Linked DNA regions of Homo sapiens: regions 1, 2, 3, 5 and 6 are each linked to region 4. Evidence: promoter capture Hi-C in 16 types of primary human blood cells and fetal thymus (Javierre and others, 2016). All regions are on one chromosome and are shown on one strand. Each heading gives the region's core, a stretch centred on a gene start or on the middle of the fragment in contact. The rest is flanking DNA. Distances are from core to core; before and after follow the strand shown. Region 1 overlaps KIF20B (kinesin family member 20B). Region 2 overlaps LOC105378424 (a long non-coding RNA gene). Region 3 overlaps LINC01374 (long intergenic non-protein coding RNA 1374). Region 4 holds the start of RPP30 (ribonuclease P/MRP subunit p30). Region 5 has its middle 10 kb from the start of LINC01374. Region 6 holds the start of BTAF1 (B-TFIID TATA-box binding protein associated factor 1).

Region 1 (3,286 bases), core at 83-2,582, 1.1 Mb after region 4:
GTTTGATAATCTGGTGATCACTCTCCTTCATTTTCTGGTCCATTAAAATCTGAAATTAAAAATTTCATAGTTTTTCAAAGCTTGTAAGTGAAAATAAAAATAAAAGCTTGTTTATAATGAGTAAGACATGTTCATGTGCTTAGTAACTGAAATGATACATTGGAGAATTTTTTTTACTTAGACTACAGATATGCCATCTTCTATAAAAATTTATTTAAAAAACAGACTTTGTAAAAGATTCAACACTATCAAATTCTAGAAGTAAAATAACCTAGACTCCATATTGAATTCAAGGCAGATATAACTTAAAATAATTACTAAAATATTTGGAGACAAGTGCCTCAAATAATTTTTAAGAAATGATCTTTCGTGGCAACAAATGTATAACTTAGAAAGTAGAAAGCACATTATATAGTAACTAAGAAAACAATTTTCAGCCAAGGGAAGAAATCAGGTACTAATCAAACAGATGCTCAAAAATGACTGACAGAATGGTACTTACAACACCATGCCCTAATTTACCCTAACTCTTTACATCTTGCATTCAAGTGTCAATCTCATATCTGAAAGCTCTTGTGGCAAAAAAGGTTTCTCCTGATTTTTCTTGGCCACTTCTTTTTAATTTTTTTAATTTCTTTTAATTATTTTTTTACCTTCACTTTCATCCACTAAGCAAATGCAAGCATGACAGAAAATTTGAGCTTTCCCTGTGACAGCACATACTGTTCTGAATCAGGAGAATGAATCATAGACTCAGGGTGATAACTACAGTCTCTTCCTAATAGATCCTCAAAGGCTTAGGGGAAAGGTGGGAGGAAATGGCTGAATGTCAGTTTTATATTTTTACCAGGAACACTTGGGCCCAGATTTGTACAACTCCCGTGATTTAAAAAAGAGAAAGAAAAAGAAAAAAAGATTGTGGAGGCAAATAAGTTACTAAATAGTGACAATTCTATTATTGGAAATAAATTCCTCTGATGCATTTTCAAATGCAAATGCATGACGCTTATATACATTTAATACAGTATTTATATTTAATTAGTATAAACTTAACACATGTGAGACTAAAAGCATGACCTTTATAGCATGTGTTTTCAGAGATCTAAAGAATTGAAATTCAAACCACTGTAAAAAATTAAAAAGAACACGAACAGTTCTACATTGATGAAAACAGAAATACTAGCTTACCACTTGGCCTGATATATCAATAGGAGATGAAATTTCACTTGTGTATAATTTCCGTTTGGCTCGTTTTGGTTGAGACACATTTTCTTTACTTGCTTCTACATTTGAGAGCTTTGAAGAGCTCATTGTTTCAATTATCTTCTTTGCTATAAAATAAAATTGTTAATTAGTTCCTGAAATAATTTTCTAATTGCAAAGGTGATTTGAAATCCTTAATAAAGATGGTTTGAAATCCTTAATAAAGAATGAACATACACAAACTAAAAACACTGCAATATATATATGGTGAAAGGGCATGAATAGACAAATCACAAAGAAAAAAAGTAAATGTCAAGAGAACATGAAATAATGATCGACAGCAAAAAAAAAGCAAATAAAGTATCATTTGATTAATGTTCAATGTAGTAAAAAACCTCAGGCATCTTTAATGACTTGGAAAATGTTTATGCTATGTTAAGCAAAAGAGCAGGATATATACATAGTGGATCATGCAGCATTAAAAATAAGGTGGTAGATGATCTAGTTCAATGCTCATGCATAAAGTTATGCACAATGAATGCTGCATGAAAATACTTTGTAAACCCTTTACTTCAAGTCCACACACAAATGGAGAGAAACCAAACTGTTAACAGCTGATTGCTTTTAGGGAAGTAGAATAGGAATTTTTAAATTCCTTACTATGTACATAGTACATAGTACTTTTTTTTAATAGAAAACATATTTCCATGTGGGAAAATTCCTGGATAGAAATTCACACACATGTGATATCAAATATTTTTTTTTAAATAGAAAAAACATTTAAGGCATTAGACTAAATTGAGAAGACTACTTGTTAAGGGCTGAGCTGGGCTTGAGAGAGCTGAGAGTCCAGGTATCGGAGAAGCCAGTTAAGACAACAAGCCAAAATGAAAGTAACAACCCAGCTTTTTAACCACTTATTTCAACAGTATATGCGAGAGACTAAACCTGAGAAAGCACCAGCTCCTACCCACCCTCTTCTATAGTCCACCACAGAATAATACAGATCAGCATAGAAGTGGTGGTCATTTTACCACCCAGGCAGCCCCAAACAAAAGGCTCTCGCAGTTTTATAGACCTCAGGGCTGGAGGTTGGAGGGAGCTATACGTGGAAAAGTACCGAGTTACAGTGGAGAAAAGCGTCTTCAAGGTTCCCCCTCCTGTTCCCCTCCATAAGAAGGCCTCCACCAAAGGCCTCAATAAAGAGGCTCTGAATGGAGGCACTCAGGCTAAATATGCAAATATGAGTAAGAGCATGACTAGCTTGGGGGATGCTGGATCCTTGACTATAACTCCCTTAAGAGATTATAATGCATTGGCTATGCATCAAGTCTGGTGTAGGAAGGGAAGCTTGTCAGGTAAGTCTTTGTAATTGCCTATGGTACAGCCTAAAAAAAATAGAAATGTTTAAAAATCATACATATGTTGGCCTAGAGCCAAACTCATCACTACTATGTGCTAGCCACTATACTAAGAGCTGACAGTATGAACTAGACAGACATTTTGTCCGTGCAGATTATATTCTAGTGTAAAAGATAATAAGAAAGCAAAGAATTACAGTTTAAAAAGTGCTAAGACAAAAAATAGGATTGAATAATAAAGATTAAGTGATGCTGGGGATGAGGGGTAGTGACAGGGTGATGAAGGAAGGTGTCTCCCTAATAACGTTCCATCAGCTATGAGGGCTCAAGGGTAAGGGGCCAGCTAAGACAAAAGCCAGGGTGTGTTCCAGATAAAAGAAAGCACAGGAAAAAGCAAAAGAAATCAATGATATGAAGGTAAGAAAGAAGCTGGCAAATTCTAGGAACTGTCAGAAGTTAGCAGGATTGAAGCTGGCTAGTTATCAAACCGTAGAATAATAAGAGATAGATTGGAGAGAGTCAGAAATCAGGTCATTCAGAAGAATGAGAAATCATTAAAGGATCAGAGGAGTAACATAATTCAATCTGCACTTTGAAAAGAACATTCTGTCATGTATGAATGGATGGGAGATGACAAGAGGGGCAAGCTGGGAGACCAGTGATACTAAGTGATGGATTAACAGTGGTTATCAGAGCAGCAGAATTTTAAAAATTAATCTCCA
Region 2 (3,625 bases), core at 220-2,719, 1.0 Mb after region 4:
TCACCTGAACTGCTGCAACAGCTTCCTAACTGTTCTATCCACATCCCACCTTGACCTCTTCCTCTGCTGAATTCTCCACACCTCAATAAGAACATGCTTGTAATATATATATGTATATATACGTATATATACATATATATGTATATATACATATATATGTGTGTATATATATATATATATATATATATGATCGAATCCTCCCTTTTTTTTACAATCCTTTAAGAAATTCCCATTAGTTTTAGAGTAAGTTTAAATTCTCAACATAGCCTATTCAATCTTACATTGTCTGGCTCCTAAAACTTCAGCTCATCCCTCGCTGCTTCCCCCCCTCACTCACTGGGCTCCAATCACATGGAAGTTTCAGATATCCTGTGCCCTCTACTGTTAGATTCACCTTAAATCTTCTGTCTCCAGTCCCTACTGCCTACTAAGTCTACTAATCAAATCTTTCGGGTCTCTGGTAAAATGCAACTTCCTCAGGAATTATAGTCAGGAATCATGACTATACTTTCTCATGACATCTTGGATTATGCCTTATAGTCCTTATTTCCTGCATGGTTAGCATGGTTATTTGTGCAATTATTCCTTTAATGTAGAGGTTTCAAATGGTATGTAGGACTAATCTGCTTACAGATGCATTCCATGGTCCACACAGTATTTCTTTTGAAAAGCTTTAATCAGTGCATTCTCTTTTTGGTTTGTCACACTTCCCATCAATTCACACCATTTCACAAATTTAGGTCCCTTTCCTGCCTCCTGCAGGCCTTTGCACATTTGGCCTGCCTCTCCTACTAAACTAGAGTCTCCATGAGGGTAAGGATGGTGCCTGTCTTCCTCATCACTCTATGCCCACTATCTGACATCCTTAAGACCTATCAAGGTGCTCTGGAAATCCTTGCCTAAGGAATAAAGCCAATGAATGAGCTGTTTTCATTGCCATTATTAGCAGCCTTTTTCTTCCTTTGGTTTTATTTTTAATACCAGATACCATAAGTAGATAAGTGTGGTGGAAGTATCCATTTGGTAACTATTTCACATGAAATTTTGAACAAATTTAGCACAAGACTCTGAACCTTAAGGCAAACTTTCACTTTTTATCCACTGGACTAAATAGAAAGTAAATTCATATAGTTACACTTTTGAATTTTGAGAAGTTTACAAAAATATTTCATCCAGGCCATTCTATTTCTATTCCCTAGGAGTTAGGCACCTCACTGACAGTGCCCCCAATTCTCCAAAGGCTTTTTAGCTCAAGGTTTAAAAAATGAAATGTAACTTTTAAAAAAGCAATCTGTCCTCCCTGATGGCAACTCCAAAAAATAAACCCAGATCACACTGCTTAAACGTTTTATGACAGCAAACATTGTGCTTAATACAAAACAGGAATTTTCAATTTGTCAATAATAAGAAAATGAAGATGCAAAACAAAATGTCTCTGTATTTTCCAGATATTTTATTTTTATGTTTCATATTTTCTTATTCTTCAAAGGGACAGAAGTTTGAGGTTTTGTATTTATTTTCTAAAGCTGTGGCCTTCTATATTTTGACAGAAAGTATTAGGGCTGAGTTACTTCTAAAAATTCCAGGTTCTCCACTCTTATAACACATTTACATTGACTTGAAAATTTTTCATTGCACCTACACACACATTTTTTGTAGGTTTTCCTCACTTGGTGAAGACTGCAATGTTGTTAATACCTCTGAAGCATTTTAGAGTTACCCAAACTCTAGATGAAAATTCTACAATAAGGAAATTCAGCAGGATGCTAAATAAGCAATATTGCTCTTTCTCTATAATTGTTGTCAAAATGTTAAAAGCTAAGCCTTCCAGCCAAAACAAAAAGAAATGATAATTTTCTGGATTGGATCAATGGTCCATTCAGGCCAATAGCATCTTCAACAATTCATTTGGGAGGTGATTTGCCCCTAACTATAATGTTAACAAGAACAGTGTTTCTCCAAGCATTTCAGAGTCTCTTAATCATGGTTCTTTTATTTGTGAATATATAAAAACATTTTTAAACTCATAATATTTCCCTTGACTTACTGTCCACCAGAGGAAGTGGTATTTTCTCTTACTTGGCTTAAGCATTCTTAAGCTGCAAAGGTAACTAACTACTCTCTCTTGTGTTCCAGGATTCAGTGAAACGGTCTCTATTGATAGCCAGATCAGACTGTGAATGAATGACCTTTTAAAACAGCCAGGTGTTTATCTCCCAGTGCATCCTTCCCTCTCTTCAGGATAAATCTTGGACAGTTAAGCTTATCCTCATGAGGTATCCTTCCCATGATATTTTTCCTGAAAAATTCCACTTGGCCTTTGAGAAGTGACTCACAACCATCTAAGGAAAAAGATACTCCAAAACAGGGCTCCAACTGGGTGGGCCTAGGCCATCTCAATGTCTCCAGTCCAGATCAACAAGGAACAGAAATACTGAGGGGTGGAAGAAATGACGAAGAAGCAGGGAGGAGGTTGGTAAGCAGTAGGCAGGTGAGGGGATCCACATCCACTGGATTGATAAGAAAGTTTGATTCCACAGCAAATACACCAGTCTAGAGTGTTCACAAAAACCCTTCAGACATTTTAGTTATGGGCACTGTCAAAGTTTGTTACAATCTTGCTTCAAGGACAAAGGCCTCCAGTAAGCCAATCAGAAATATTAATACATTCTTCATAAGAACATTTGATAGGAAAATACAAAAAGAAGAGAATGTTTGTTAAAAGCCACTAGATTGTTGAATGTCATTCAGTGGGGTAGATAGGTGACTGGTTTCCTAGAACAAGACTTTGGTCCATTAATGTTTTCCAGAATATTACTTAAGCATTTTGTCAGGAATGTTAATTTCTTCTCAGAATGAGGTTGCAAATTACATCATGTAAAAAGATTCCTTCCCACACCAGGTTTGGGGCAACTTCTCTTTTATAGTAGTCAGTTTCAAGGCAGTGACCAGAATTCATATGACAGTCAAGAATTGGAAACAATATAGCAGAGTGTGAGTTTTGCAGTCAAACGGACCTGAGTGGTGAACCTTAGTATTAGCTGATTCATGTGTAAAATGAGGGTAAAATAATAACTACCTTGTTAGGGAGGAGATACTAATAAATACTATTTCATTCTTGTTATTTATTTTCTCTGAATTTTTACAATTGATCACTTTTATATTAATCATTTTTATTCATCATCTTAATAATAAAAAATATTTGTTATTATTTTAAAGCATTATTATTTAAACATATTTATTATTTTTATGTGCTCATAGCAGCCAGGATCTGTATCTCCACATATCATTGCCTATTTCAAGGTCCTGAGGTAAGGTTTTAAAATTTAGAAAACACTTGAACACCAGAATCTGTTAGGCAATGTTATTCAAACACTAAGTTCCCCACACTATGGAAGTCAGGCAAAGTCCTAGACCAAATACCATTCTGAGCAAAGTTTTCACATACAAAATAATGTGTTAGTAGAACTAACTGTCTCTTCCCAGTAGCCCATTGCCATGGTAATCCACCAGACAAAATAGGATCGAAGAAAATATTTCTAATGCTTTCTTGTTCCAAGGCCTTGGCTTGCAATTTTGTCTTCTCAATAGACCATTAGCAAGTTCGTAGTGCCCTGTGCCAAAC
Region 3 (3,466 bases), core at 854-3,353, 1.0 Mb after region 4:
TTCTACCACTCAGCCCCCTCCCCCCACACACAAAAAAAAAACATTCCCTGCTTCTCACTATCTTCTGGGTATAGGTTTTCCTCAGCATAAACATTAACATAGTCACCTCAGAATGGGCCCACCACAGCTAGGGGAAAGACTTCTAATCTACCCTCATGCATCTTTACCGAGTCTCCTGGCTGCTCCCCCATCCCCAAGGCTAGATGTTTTATACAGCACCTTAGATAGCCCCTGGATTGGAAACAGCTCTGCTCCTGAAAACATTAAATAGCTCTGACTTTGTAAACATCCCTGAAACCATTAAAAGCTCCCAATGTCTCAGGAACGGATTTGGGAGTATAATTTGTATACTCACATAAGGTTGGGGCTAAATAAGGTCTCCCGTGTCAGCTCTTACACTTTCTAGTCAAGGAAAGTGATATAGGAAGATGTGTCTTGCCTCAGGTCATAAACCTTCAAAATAAAGAAACTGGGGGAGCCAAGACTAGAACTGATGACTTTTTACACTTCCAGATGTACCAGGACTTCTCCTAAAAGAAAATATATCAATATGAACTTACTGCCCAACATGGTCCCTGAATTTTCAAGCCCCACATTTCCACATAGGGTGCTCTCTCCCTAGTGCACAATATATAGAGATCCCTGCTGTCCTTGGGATCCGCTCTCCTTGACCTCAGCGTTGCAAGCAGGTTAATTCTAAAAACATTTTCTGATTGACAGAAATATTTTGCTGAAAAGTAATACAATTAAGGTACACGCTGAAAAACCAATCTGAGGCTGATTCTACCAAATTAACCTATCGGAACAAATTGACAGGTCACTTCAGGAAAATCACCAGTTAATCTGGTTTTTTTAAAACTGAATTCTCAAAGATAGAATTGACTGCCTCTTTCATCAAGGGCTGTCTTTTGTCTTAATATCATACTGGCTCGCTGTCGATAAAAATGAAACATTTTATTTCTCAAATCCTCATCCTCAATTGGTTCATCTTATGCTCCAGTGGGTAACATTTCTACTTTTTGAGACTTTTGAGAGTTTAAATGGCTTGTATCATTTTGCTTGGGATTTTTGTTTTCTCTAGAATTGAAGGAGAAGTGAATTTCACTGACCAGTAACAGAGTAAGTATTTCTGGAATCTGCTCAAGTTTGCACATAGAATTTAGCATCATCTTGATTATTTAAAAATTTAGCTGTGAACATAAATATCTAAATATATCTGCCTACACATATAGACAACTGATTTCCTCAAGAATTAAATATGAAGATTTATTTATTTGTTCATTCAAGGAATATTTTATTTAGAAATAAATATATTCTCAGTGGTTCTGTGCTAGTGGTAATATTTAAAAGATTGATACAACAAAGTCCGTGTCCTCAAGTAACTTACTGCCTGGAGAAAAAAAGACAGTCAACTAAGCAAACACCAGATGCAGTAGGTAGGAAACAGAACAATCTCTCCATGTCTCATTACAAAATCTTTATCGCCCATTAGTCCAGAGAGGGGTGAAGGAGGCATCTATCATTCTGGTCTGAAACACTGGCACACAGTAAGAAATAGCATGCCCAGTGATGCTAGGTCTAGCCTGTGGGAAAAAAAACACAAAAACTGTAACTTAGATGTTTATATTTAGTCCTATCTCAACTTTTCCCTCTCGCCACTCTCAGCTCCAGCTATAAAATTATCCCTCCATTGCCACTTGACATTAATGAGAAATAATAATAATAGCTAACATTTATTACTACCAGGCAGGCACTACACTATGTTCCTGACATATTGTTGTGCATTACATCCTAATGGCAACTACTAGATAGCATCATCATTATCCTCATGTCAGTATAATAAATGGAGAAACATAAAGGCTAAAGAATTTGCACAAAGAATTTGGACTCAGGTAATCTGCTCAGTATCCAATGTCTACACCATCATTGTTTACTGGAACTGATACACTAAATCATTTTTCTGACCAAAAACTAGTGTATGGTGTCCCACTTCCCACCCCTTTCCCCTCAAAAGCTATTTTCATTTTAAAGAACGACTTGATTTAAAAGCCTTCTGCACAGCAAAAGAAATAACCAGCAGAGTGAAAAAAACAATCCACAGAGTAGGAGAAAACATTTGCAAACTATATATCTAACTAAGAACTAATATCCAGAACCTACAAGGAACTCAAACAAATCTGCAAGAAAAAATAATAATAATCCCATCAAATAGTGGGCAAAGGACATGAGTAGACAATTCTCAAAAGAAGATATACAAATGGCCAAGAAAAATATGAAAAAATGCTCAACATCACTAATTATCAGGGAAAGACAAATTAAAACCACAATGAGATACCACCTTACACCTGCAAGAATAGTCATAATTTAGATATCAAAAAATAATAGATATTGGCATGGATGCAGAGAAAAGGGAACACTTTCACACTGCTGGTGGGAATGTAATGAGTATAACCACTATGGAAAATAGTATGGAGATTCCTTAAGGAAATGAAAGTAGAGCTGCCATTCGACCCAGCAGTCCCACTACTGGATATCTACCCAAAGGAAAAGAAGTCATTATATGAAAAAGACACATGCACACACATGTTTACAGCAGCATAACTCGCAATTGCAAAATATGGACCCAATGTAAATGCCCATCAACCAATGAGTGGATAAACAAATGTGGTATATATGCACCATGGAATACTACTCAGCCTTAAAATTGAATGGAACTATGGCCTTTGCAGCAACTTGGATGGAGTTGAAGGCCCTTATTCCAAGTAATGTAACTCAGGAATGGAAAACCAAATACCATATGTTCTCACTTAAAAGTGGGAGCTAAGCTATGAGGAGGCAATGGCATAAGAAGGATATAATGGACTTTGAGGATTTGGCAGGGAAGGATGGAGGAGGGTGAGGGATAAAAGACTACATATTGGGTACAGTGTTCACTGCTCAGGTGATGGGTGCATGAAAAACCTCAGAAATCATCACTAAAGAACTTATCCACGTAACCAAAAGCCACCTGTACCCCCAAAACTATTGAAATTAAACAAATAAATAAAAATTAAAAAGAAGGACTTGAATCCATTGTGTTGGAATGTCAGGCATTGTGAAATGATAAGGGGACAGCACACCCAGAGATGCTACTACGAGGTCCTCCAGCCTATTGAAAAAAAACTCTATCTTAGTTGTTTATATTTTGTCCTATTTCAACTTTTCCCTCTCTCAACTCCCAATGCCTGGGAACAGACCCTGATACTGTCCCTAAAAAGCACCAAACAGTCATTTGGCATGTACTTTTAAGAAGCAGGGAGCTGAACAAATTAGGCTTTAGATTAATATGCAAATGACTCACATAACAATTAAAAAGGAGTCAAAGTCTGTTCCTGACTCACTTTCATCCCCTCTTGAGAGCTGAGAATTAGGCCCCAAACACCCTGCCATAAGCCCAGTAATCTCAGCAATTACTGTGCACACATAA
Region 4 (3,580 bases), core at 170-2,669:
CTTTGACTTGTAAGTTGAGGCAACTTTATATGCCATGAATTCCATTTAATTTACAAACAAATAACCACTAACAATGTACATATATTACCACACCTCTTCCAAGTGTATTTTAAACTGGGGGAAATTCTCTAAAGAAATCATTATTAACTTTTCTTTTTTGTATTAATTTTTTTAATGTGTTCAGTTTATTCCACAAGCATTAACTGAGTAACTGCCATGTACTGGTGCCTGCAGAGTGAACGTGTTAAGCACAGTAAATAAAAGGATAAGACATGGCAATTCTCTTAGGAAGCTCATGATTTATTCAAAAATGGGATGGCGTCAGGAAAAGCCTCATTGAGGAGGTAATAATTGCGACAAACTACACCTAGGAAAACTTATTTTACAGGATCAAAGAACATTAGCGCCAAATGGCCCAGATCATCATGTCTACTTTCGTCTTCGTGCTGATGAGCAAAGTACCACAGAGATAACGTTCATTTAGTGGCAGCAGTGGAAAGGGACAGTCATTTCGCCACGGATACTTCATAAAGAGAACAATAAAAAAGTGGTGTGATTCACTTTGCCAAGAAGTGGTTGTCATTTCTAGCACCACCTCTGAACAGTATCAGTAATCAGAACTCACAATGAGCTGAAAACTGTCTCTGAGGAGCAGATGTTACTACACGAACCTCTTGATTCTTTTTAATCTCTCTATTCCAACACTTTACAGTCTACGGAATACAGAACCCATGACTAACTCCAATAGTTAAAACAGGTTCTCGTCTCTCAAGGCTTTCGCTTCCCTTCGATTTGGGCCATGCTATCCTCCTCCTCCACCTCCACTCCGCTGTGTATGTCCTCTGCCCCCACCTACCCTCTCTCTGTCTAGATAGTATTGTTCCAACACTCCCACGTCCTCCTCCTTCTCCGAGCCTCCACGGCGCTTCCTGTCCGTGCCCCAAATTCCAGTATTTGTTTAGACACTGTCGTGAGAATCAGGAAGGGCTGATAGTAACTTAGAAGCTTAGAAGATTGTACCCTTGGAGTCCAGCTCCGGCTTCTGTCACCTATCAGCTGTAGGCCCCTATGCAAATCCCTCGCCCTCGTTAGGCCTCAGTTCCCTCATTGCAGGAAAGTAGCTGAACCAGATAACAACCCCCAGAACCTTCGAGTTTCCCGCGCTAGGAATCAGACCAACACCTCGGCGGGCATCAGCCTCCAGGGACATCCCAGAGACTCTGGGAGACCTGACCGAGACCCATCAGGAAATAGTTACTCCGGAGTGTGGCCCGATGGTCTGGGTGGCATGAGGTTGGCCAGGCGCGAAGCCGGGGCAACTCACGGTGAGCGGCTGTCTCCACAAGTCCGCGCAGAGCCTTCAGGTCAGAACCCGCTCGCAGGTCCAAATCTGCAAACACCGCCATGCTGAAGTCCCATGACCGTCCGCGCGCGCCAGTCTGCGCAGCCGCTGAGCCCGCCCCTCAGGCATGCTGGGAGCTGTAGTTAACCTGCGCAGTCCGTCTCTACCTCCAGTTGACTAGGGATTCGGAGAAACTTACTTGCTTTGCTTTCATCTACCACCAGAATTTGTGTGTTGAAATCAACAGCTTCATTTCAATCTCTCTTTGTCTTCTTCTGAACGACAATGTTTGGTTCCCCCTGGAGGGGTTCCAATTCCCAACTATTCAATACTCCTATAAAATAGTGTAGAAATGAATTCATTCAAAATGCACGCACACGGTATCTACTTAGTGCTGCTCATGAATCAGAGAATTCTGCTAATGGGTGAAAACGCTATTTAAAGAGTCTTAAAGAACACGTTTTCCTTTCCTTTCCCTAAAGTCCATTCCGTTGTTTACAATGGACTTACCGGGAAGAAGGCGTTTGTGTGTGACGGACTCTAGGACTTCAAAAGAGAACTACCCCAAGACGAGGGTCTTTTTACCCAATCAGAACTGTTGATGTCAAAGCCCGCTATTCTCTGTGGCAGTCAACATCTTCAACCACAAGATGGCGGGACTCGCTCTAGGACGAGCGGTTAGAGCCAACATTGATTTAGCCAAAGACATGTTTGAAAAGGGAGGTGCAAAATTGAGATGTTTTACACTTTTCCAGCTGAGAAATGTACAAGGTGACGCATATCCCACATATCTGATGTTTCCACTTTTTTCCGACTTAGTGTAAATGATCTATTGAGGATAATAATCAATTATACTACAAAAGTGTGACTATAGTTTACATCAGTGCTCTCAAACTACCTGTGATGAAGGATCAGTTTCTCCCTCCTTTTCCTCTACCCCCAAACTCTTCGCGAACCAGGATGTGGTCCTTTATGCATTACCAGTAAGCAGCCTGGCCTCATGGGAATCACAAATTTGACAACACTCGAACTGCCCTATACCTGGCTGAATAGAATCTGCTGATCAGGAGCTTGGATTATCAGGACAATGCCAAAGTACTGTAAACTTTCTAAACATCTTCACTTTTTGTTTGTTTGTTTGTTTTATTAACGTGCGCACAGCAACAACAATCACAGAATTAGAGGCTCGGTCATTTGACCTAGGGAGTATCCTAGTTGGTGGCCTGCTGAGTTTTCGTTTCGTTTTGTTTTGTTTTTAGAGAGAGTATCTCGTTATTGACCAGGATGGACTCTAACGCAAGCAATCCTCTCTCCTAGCTGTGATTACAGGAGCCCACCCACATGCTTCACCCATCAATTTCTCTTATTTACTGATCACAAACAGTTCACAGATAGTCTCTCGTCTATGGACCACACCTTAACTAGTACTCCTTTATGCGATTTTCTTGTCGGTCTCAGAAGGGAGGAAGGATCTGTTCCATGCAGTAGCATGCAATTCTCTTCTTGGTTAACTTTTGTAAAGAAGAGATATTTTGCCTTTTCCAGTACTTGATATTTCCTAAGTGGGAGTAGAAGAGAATATTACTTCTGCAAATAGAATAAGGTCATATGAAGCAAACGCTTTGTTTTTCATGAGAATATCTAGTGTTAATTTTGCAGGGTCACACAGGCATCATCACCTATGACCATAACAATCTAGATTGGTCAGAAATATGACCAATGTGTGGTGAAGGTGAATAAGGTGATAGTTCAATTATTTTTTCATTTTTAGTTGACACATTGTAATTATACATATTTATAGGGTACAATTTCATGTTCTGATACATGTATATGTTGTATAATGAACAAATCAAGGTAATTAGCATATTCATCACCTCATGCATTTTTGGTGATAACATTAAAAAAAACTCTTCTAGCTGTTTCGTGATATATAAACAATACCTTACTGTTAACCATAGTCACCTTGTGTGCAATACAACATCAGAACTTATTCCTCCTATCTAACTTTGTACCTGTTGACCAACCTCTCCCCATCCTCCTCCCTCAATCCCTCCCTCAATACCAATCAGTTGGCTATAGGTGCATGCATTTATTTTTGGTCTCTCTATTCTGTTACATTATTGGTCTATGTGTCTGTTTTTCTGCCAGTACCATGCTGTTTTGGGTACTATAGCTTTGTAGCATATTTTTAAGTCAGGCTTTGTGATATCTCCAGCTTTGCTCTTTTTGCTCAGGACT
Region 5 (3,434 bases), core at 74-2,573, 1.0 Mb after region 4:
GCCTTTCACTTAGGATGCCGTCCACCAGTCCCCTCCCCCGGATAAATTCAGTCTCCAAAAAAGGGAGGCTTAGAGTTTAGTGGAATGAAGTGGAAAATAGAGTATAGCACACATAGGTTAATCCTTGTCTTGTCAAGCTTAAGTTTCTGTGTGTGTGTGCGTGTGTGTGTGTGCATGTGCTGATTCAGTGTAAAATGTATTTTTTATTGTTAAGTTATGGTTAAAGTAGAATGAAAGCCTCTGAGCAACCTCTGAGCAAACCTCTGAGCAACCTCAGGATCAGCTGTAATTCTCAGTTATTATTTCTTGTGATCTCCTAGCATTCCTTTCAAACATTTTCAATGGCTCCTCATTTCATACATAGGCTTTCCATAATCTGGCCCCAACCTCTTACCCATCTCATCTCACAGCTAACTCCATTACACAAACCATCCACCTCAGATAAATGGCCTGCTTCCTTCCCTGAATCTATGACACACACTCTGTTTCATAAATTGTGTTTGCCTTCTCCCACAGTCACTCCACCACCCCTGCCAAACCCGGCCTCTCTCCTCTTTCCTCTCTCCTCTCTCCTCTCCTAAGGCTCACACTTACTTAAAGCTCAAGTTATGTTTGTGTAACCTTAAACAAGGCACTTCCCATCTGAGCACAGGGTCTTTGTTGACAGAATCAGGGAATTGGGGGAGAGATCTGGCAAGATGGCCAAATAGGAACAGCCCAAGTCTGCACCTCCCAGTGAGACCAACGCAGAAGGTGGATGATTTCTGCATTCCTAACTGAGGTACCCTGTTCATCTCATTACAGTGATCAGTGGTTTTTATTCCAGGGATGCAAGGATGGTTCAACATATGTAAATCATATGTAAATCAATAAATGTGTTTCACCATATAAAGAAAATTAAGAACAAAAAACATATCTCAATAAATGCAGAAAAAGCATCTGATAAAAATCCAACATCCCTTCATGATATAACTAGACATTGAAGGAACATACCTCCAAATAATAAAAGCCACACATTACAAACCCATGGCCAACATCATACTGAAAGGAGAAAAGCCAAAAGCATTTCCCCTATGACCTGAAACTGAACAAGCCTGTCTACTCTCACCTCTCCTATTCAACATAGTACTGGAAGACCTAGCCAGAACAATCAGGCAAGAGAAAGAAATAAAAGGCATCCAAACTGAAAAAAAAATAAAAGTCAGATTATCTCTTTTCACTGATGACATGATCCTATACCTAGAAAACCCTAAAGATTCCTTAAAAATACTCCTAGACATAATAAATGACTTCAGTAAAGTTCAGTAAAGTTTCAGAATACAAAACCAATGTACAAAAATCAGTAGCATTTATATACCCCAATAACACTCAAGCTGAAAACCAAATCAAGAATTCAATTCCATTTACGATAGCTACATATAATAAAACTAAAATTAAATACCTAGGAATATATTTAACCAGAGAGGTTAAAGATTCCTACAAGGAGAAATACAAAACACCAATAAAAGAAACCATAGACGACACAAACAGAAAAACATCCCATCTGGGCACAGTGGCTCGTGCCAGTAATCCCAACACCTTGGGAGGCCAAGACAGGAGGATCCATTGAGCCCAGGAGGTTGAGACCAACGTGGGCAACATAGAGAGACCTTGTTTCTACAAAAAAATTAAAAATTAGCCAGCCATGGTGGCTAACACTTGTAATCCCAGCTACCTAGGAGGCTGAGGCAGGAGGATTGCTTGAGTCTGGGAGGTTGAGGCTTCAGTGAGCTATGATTGTGCCACTGCACTCCAGCCTGGTTAACAAAGTGAGACCCTGTTTCAAAAAAAAAGAAAAAGAAAAGAAAAATATTCCATGCTCATGAATTGTGAAGAATCAATATCTTTAATATGGCAATAATTTATTGCCCAAAGCAATCTGTGGTTCAGTACAGTTCCTATCAAATTACCAACGTCATTTTTCACAGAAAAAGAAAAAACAATTCTAACACTCATACAGAACCAGGAAAGAGCCAGATTAGCAAAGCAATCCTAAGCAAAAGAAAAAAGCTGGAGGTATCACATTACCTGACTTCAAATCATACTACAAGGCTGTAGTAACCAAAACAGCATGGTACTAGTATAAAAATAGACACATAGATCAATGAAACAAAATAGAGAACCAGAAATAAAGCCACATACCCACAACCAGCTGACCTTTGACAAAGTAAACAAAAATAAGCAATGGGAAAAGGGCACCCTATTCCATAAAAGGTGCTGGGAAAACTGGCTAGCCATATGCAAAATAATGAAATTGGACTCCTATCTCTCATTTTCTACAAAATTACTCAAAATGAACTAAAGACTTAAATGTAAGACTTGGAACTATAAAAATCCTAGAAGAAAACCTAGAAAATAAATACTCTTTTGGACACTGGCCTAGGCAAAGAATGTATGACTAAGGCCTCAAAAGCAAATGCAACAAAAACAAAAACAGATAAATGGGGCTTAACTAAACTAAAAAGCTTCTGCATAGAAAAAAAAAAGATTAAACAGATAACCCACAGAATAGGAGAAAAATTTGCAAATTATGGCTCCAACAAAGGACTAGTATCCAGCCTCTACAAGAAACTCAGACCCCTCTACAAGAAAAAAAAATGACCCTATCAAAAAGTGGCCAAAGGACAAGAACAGACATTTCTCGAAGACATACATGCAACCAACAAATATATGAAGAAATGTTCAACATCACTAATCATCAGAGAAATGCAAATTAAAACCACAATGAGACATCATCTTACACGAGTCAAAATGGCTATTATTGAAAAGTCAAAAAATAGTAGATGTTGGTGTGGATGTGGAGAAAAGAGAACACTTACACACTCTGGTTGAGAACGCAAATTAGTAAAACCTCTATGGAAAACAGTATGACGATTTCTCAAAGAACTAAACATATAACTACCATTTGACCCAGTAATTCCACTACTGAGTATCCACCCAAAAGAAATCATTACATAAAAAAGATAACTGCCACCAGGTGCAGGGGCTCACACCTGTAATCCCAGCACTTTGGGAGGCTAAGGCGGGTGGATCACCTGAGGTCGGGAGTTCGAGACCAGCCTGACCAACATGGAGAAACCCCATCTCTACTAAAAAATACAAAATTAGCCGGTGTGGTGGTGCATGCCTGTAATCCCAGCTACTGGGGAGGCTAAGGCAGGAGAATCGCTTGAACCTAGGAGGCGAAGTTTGCGGTGAGCTGAGATCGAGCCATTGCACTCCAGCCTGGGCAACAAGAGCGAAACTCTGTCTCAAAAAAAAAATACATATATAAGAAAATAACTGCAAGTATATGTTTATCACAGCATTTTTCACAATAGAAAAGTCATGGAATCAACCTAAGTGTCCATCAACAGATTGAAGAAAATGTGGTACATATCCACCATGGAATATAA
Region 6 (3,590 bases), core at 204-2,703, 1.1 Mb before region 4:
CCAGGCCGCGGAGCACAGGGGAGCGGCCGGTGCGGCGTGGGGCGTTCCAGCGCAGGCCCTCGGGCATCTGCCCTGCCGCCTACCCGAGCTCGTCCCCGCGGCGGCCGGTAAGCAGGGGTCCAAGACGGTAGCGGAGGCGGCAGTCCTCCGACCCGCACGACTTCAAACCGGGTACCCTCAGCTCCGCTCTTTGCTGACGCGGGCGTCGGCACGCACAACTGAGCGTCAGCGCGCCGGAAGTGACGTAAGCTCACCGACAGGAGCTTAGCTCGGCGCGAGCGCCTTTGGTTTGGCGGCACGCGCCTAAATAAAAGCGCTTTGTGCTGATGTGGAGAGGGTGTCTAGTCTTAAAACTAGGGAAGGAGGTGAAGTAAGGGTCCCCTTATTTGACAGAGAAGGAAAAAGGCGATTTAGTCCAAGTCCTGGAACTTCGAAAGCTTGGTTTCTAATTCCACACTACCCAGATTCTGCTTCCCACCGTACTGCATCTAGGAAGCAAGATCAGAAGGACCTTAACATGCTCTTGTCCAGGTGGTGAAGCCAGTGGGAGGAGTGAAAGCAAAAAGTCGCTATGACACTGAAGAAATGGCTCAGATGTTTGTCATTATTTGCCAGAAGTTCTGCCTAGGTATTGGAGAGAAGGTCTTCTGACCAACGATTTTGCCAAGTTTGATTTCTCAATTGTTTATGTTGTTTGTACCATCATTTTCTCAGCCAGCCAGATTTGAAAACTACCATTTTTAAATTTTTGTTCCTTTGGGGGACTTATCTGGCTTTTCAATATTTTTAAGTTCATTAGGCTTTTAAACACTTCTGCCAGGCCCTTATCATCTTACACTTGATTTTTTTTTTTTGACCGAGTTTCGCTCTGTCGCCCAGGCTGGAGTGCAGTGGCGCGATCTCGGCTCACTGCCAACCTGCGCTTACCGGGTTCAAGCGATTCTAAATGTGCCTCAACCTCCCGAGTAGCTGGGAGGCACACGAGCCCCACGCCGGGCCAATTTTTTGTATTTTTTAGTAGAGACGGGGTTTCGCCATGTAGGCCAGGCTTGTCTCCTGCTCCTGGCCTCAAGTGATCTGCCCGCCTCGGCCTCCCAAAGTGCTGGGATTACAGGTGTGAGCCACTGCGCCCGGCCCTTAAACTTGATTTTTATGCTAGTAGTCAAAATAATATTTCTCCAATTTTCAGTTCAGCCCATTTTATAGGCCAACAGATTAATCTTCAAAAAACCTCACTGCTTTTTATCATGTCGCTCCTATGCTTATAAAGCATGTCCATTGGCTTCTCATTACCTGAAGAGGCTATGTCTCAATCCTTGAGTCTGTTTTTCATCTGTAAAATGAGGCTAATGAGAAGTACTGCAGAAGATTGTGGGAATAAAATGAGGTCATGAATCTAGAAGAGCTTACAAGAACTTTGTAAACCATAAAGTAGTATATATGTATGTAAAGAGAAAGAAACTAACAAGTACCTGCTGTGTGCTGGGCACATGACATGCATTATCCATATAATTTGTAGGGAAGCCTTGAAAAGTTAGTTTTAATCTTCGTAGACAAGGAAACTAAGCTCAGAAAGGTTAAGTAATTTGCCTCAAGATTCAAGCTAGTAATAATATTTATTGTCCAGTCATTCAACAAATGTTTGTCACCTCTCTGTATCAGAAACTCTGCTTGGCGGTGTTCATGCTATTAAAATCTAATCAAGTTGATGTTCAAGATATCTTTACATTTTCACTTTAGTCACCTACTTGCCTCATCAGTTTATCTCCCACCATTCAATAACAAGCAGATACTTTTTACTGATCGTGTACAGCAATCATTTAGCCAAAATTAAGCACCTACCATATGAGAGACTGGAACTTCTGAAGAAACCAGAACAGACAAGGTGCCTACTCTGGTTGAATTTACATTAAAAGGAAAGGAAAAAGAAAATAGATAAACATTGAAAATATATTTATGTGCTATGTAAAGAGAATGATGGAATTAATGGTATGATTAAAGACCTACTCTTACTGGGTAAATCAGGGAAAAACAGGATTAGCTTAAGCTGAGCCCTAAATGACAAGAGGTAGCTAAATGTGTGACAATCTGGGAGCCTTCCAGGAAGAGGGTATACGTAGTGCAAAGGCGTAAGAGAAGTCTGCTCTGTTGGGAAATGAGATGGGAGAAGTAGAAAGGGATCATCGTAAGGAATTTGGACTTTGCTCCATATGAAGTAGAAAGTCATAGAGTTTTAAGCAAGTGAGTAAAATGATCTTAGTTATATTTTTTAAATCTTTTTATTATCAGATAATTGGGTATATAGTCTAAATGGCATTAGAAGAGAGGAAAGGACTGGTGGTGTAGATTTGTAAAGGATAGTGTAATAATCAAATATATTGATATTGGACCGGCTTGTTTTTAAATCCTTTCTCACCACACTGAATCGCAGTGTCTCCAGGGGGAATTTTAGAACCTCTCTAAGCTTCATCTGGGAAATGAGGATAATAATAGTACTCATAGGGTTGCGGTGATGATTAAATTAATGCACATAAAACATTTAACCAAGTGACTGCCACGAGAAGCCCTCAAAAATATTATTAACTACATTGCTTACTGTTTTTGTTAACAATGGAAACTTGAGTAAGTGGCAATTTCTAGTCTCAATTTATTCAGCTGTGAAACGGGGATAATAATAGTACCAGTTCACCACCGTTATCTATACCAGTTCATCACCCCTGCCAGATGGTTTTCTGAGTTAAGAATTATTTAGGTTTTGAAAAGAAATCCAATGAATATACCTTGTATTATGCAGCATCCCAACAGCTTGTAGGGCAGTACTCTATAATCAAATATATTTATAGAGCTGCAGCAAAATGTATGACTAACCATACTAAGAGGAATAAGTAAAAGACTATAGATAGGCATATGCCAGTTCAGGCCAGGATTTGCTGCCAAATATATATATTTTGAGATGGCATTTTGCTGTTTCCAAGGCTGGTCTTGAACTCCTGGGCTCAAGCAGTCCTCCCATCTCAGCCTCATGAGTAGCTGGGACTATAGGTGAGTTTTTAAAAGTGTGGTTTTCAGACCATTTTCAATTTCAGAATTGTAAATAATAGATCATGAACCTGTACTTATAGAATTGTCATAAGGAAGAAATGAGTTCATACATGACACACTTAGAAAATACTAAGTATTAGCCAGGTGTGATAGTTCATGCCTGTCATCCCAGCACGTTGAGAGGCTGATGTGGGAGGATCGCTTGAGCCCAGGAATTCGAGACCAACCTGGGCAACATAGGGAGACCTCATGTCTACAAAAAAAATTTTTTTTAATTAGGCTGGGTGCGGTGGCTCATGCCTGTAATCCCAGCACTTTGGGAGGCCAAGGCAGGCAGATCATGAGGTCAGGAGATGGAGACCATCCTGGCTAACACAGTGAAACCCAGTCTCTATGAAAAATACAAAAAATTAACCGGGCATGGTGGCGGGCACCTGTAGTCCCAGCTACGCGGGAGGCTGAGGCAGGAGAATGGCATGAACCTGGGAGGCAGAGCTTGCAGTGAGCCAAGATCACGCCACTGCACTCCAGCCTGGGTGATGGAGCAA

Evidence for each region. The method cuts DNA at HindIII sites, captures the fragments that hold promoters and counts their contacts. A CHiCAGO score of 5 or more calls a contact.
Region 1: a contact is called between a fragment that was not itself captured here and the fragment with the promoter of RPP30 in region 4, in 15 of 17 cell types (total B cells, total CD4 T cells, naive B cells and 12 more). The highest score is 13.4, in total B cells.
Region 2: a contact is called between a fragment that was not itself captured here and the fragment with the promoter of RPP30 in region 4, in 7 of 17 cell types (M0 macrophages, naive B cells, naive CD4 T cells and 4 more). The highest score is 8.3, in M0 macrophages.
Region 3: a contact is called between a fragment that was not itself captured here and the fragment with the promoter of RPP30 in region 4, in 1 of 17 cell types (M0 macrophages). The highest score is 5.0, in M0 macrophages.
Region 5: a contact is called between a fragment that was not itself captured here and the fragment with the promoter of RPP30 in region 4, in 1 of 17 cell types (non-activated CD4 T cells). The highest score is 5.3, in non-activated CD4 T cells.
Region 6: a fragment that was not itself captured here is called in contact with the fragment with the promoter of RPP30 in region 4 in 8 of 17 cell types (naive CD4 T cells, fetal thymus, non-activated CD4 T cells and 5 more); the score reaches 11.8 in naive CD4 T cells.

Annotation. Positions count from the first base shown.
Region 1 is chr10:89,770,734-89,774,019 of GRCh38, reverse strand. It overlaps KIF20B (kinesin family member 20B), which reads right to left. Exons shown (of 33, transcript NM_001284259.2): 32 at 1,189-1,331; 33 at 1-49. Among named protein-coding and RNA genes, the nearest start is that of LINC00865, 57 kb to the left of the region's middle. The HindIII fragment of the contact is 2,447 bases long and covers 109-2,555 here.
Region 2 is chr10:89,823,834-89,827,458 of GRCh38, reverse strand. LOC105378424 (a long non-coding RNA gene) reads left to right here. Exons shown (of 3, transcript XR_946196.3): 2 at 2,137-2,276. Among named protein-coding and RNA genes, the nearest start is that of LINC00865, 3.8 kb to the left of the region's middle. The HindIII fragment of the contact is 1,591 bases long and covers 674-2,264 here.
Region 3 is chr10:89,862,121-89,865,586 of GRCh38, reverse strand. All of the region lies in intron 1 of LINC01374 (long intergenic non-protein coding RNA 1374), which reads right to left. Among named protein-coding and RNA genes, the nearest start is that of LINC01374, 9.9 kb to the right of the region's middle. The HindIII fragment of the contact is 8,705 bases long and covers 1-3,466 here.
Region 4 is chr10:90,869,813-90,873,392 of GRCh38, reverse strand. It overlaps RPP30 (ribonuclease P/MRP subunit p30), which reads right to left and starts at 1,419. Exons shown (of 11, transcript NM_006413.5): 1 at 1,325-1,419. The coding sequence starts at 1,406. RefSeq lists enhancers at 1,109-1,168, 1,299-1,568, 1,287-1,581. The HindIII fragment of the contact is 10,238 bases long and covers 1,008-3,580 here.
Region 5 is chr10:89,841,880-89,845,313 of GRCh38, reverse strand. No RefSeq gene overlaps it. Among named protein-coding and RNA genes, the nearest start is that of LINC01374, 10 kb to the left of the region's middle. The HindIII fragment of the contact is 2,367 bases long and covers 140-2,506 here.
Region 6 is chr10:91,920,400-91,923,989 of GRCh38, reverse strand. It overlaps BTAF1 (B-TFIID TATA-box binding protein associated factor 1), which reads right to left and starts at 220. Exons shown (of 38, transcript NM_003972.3): 1 at 1-220. RefSeq lists a silencer at 1-237 and enhancers at 488-597, 945-1,478. The HindIII fragment of the contact is 2,027 bases long and covers 440-2,466 here.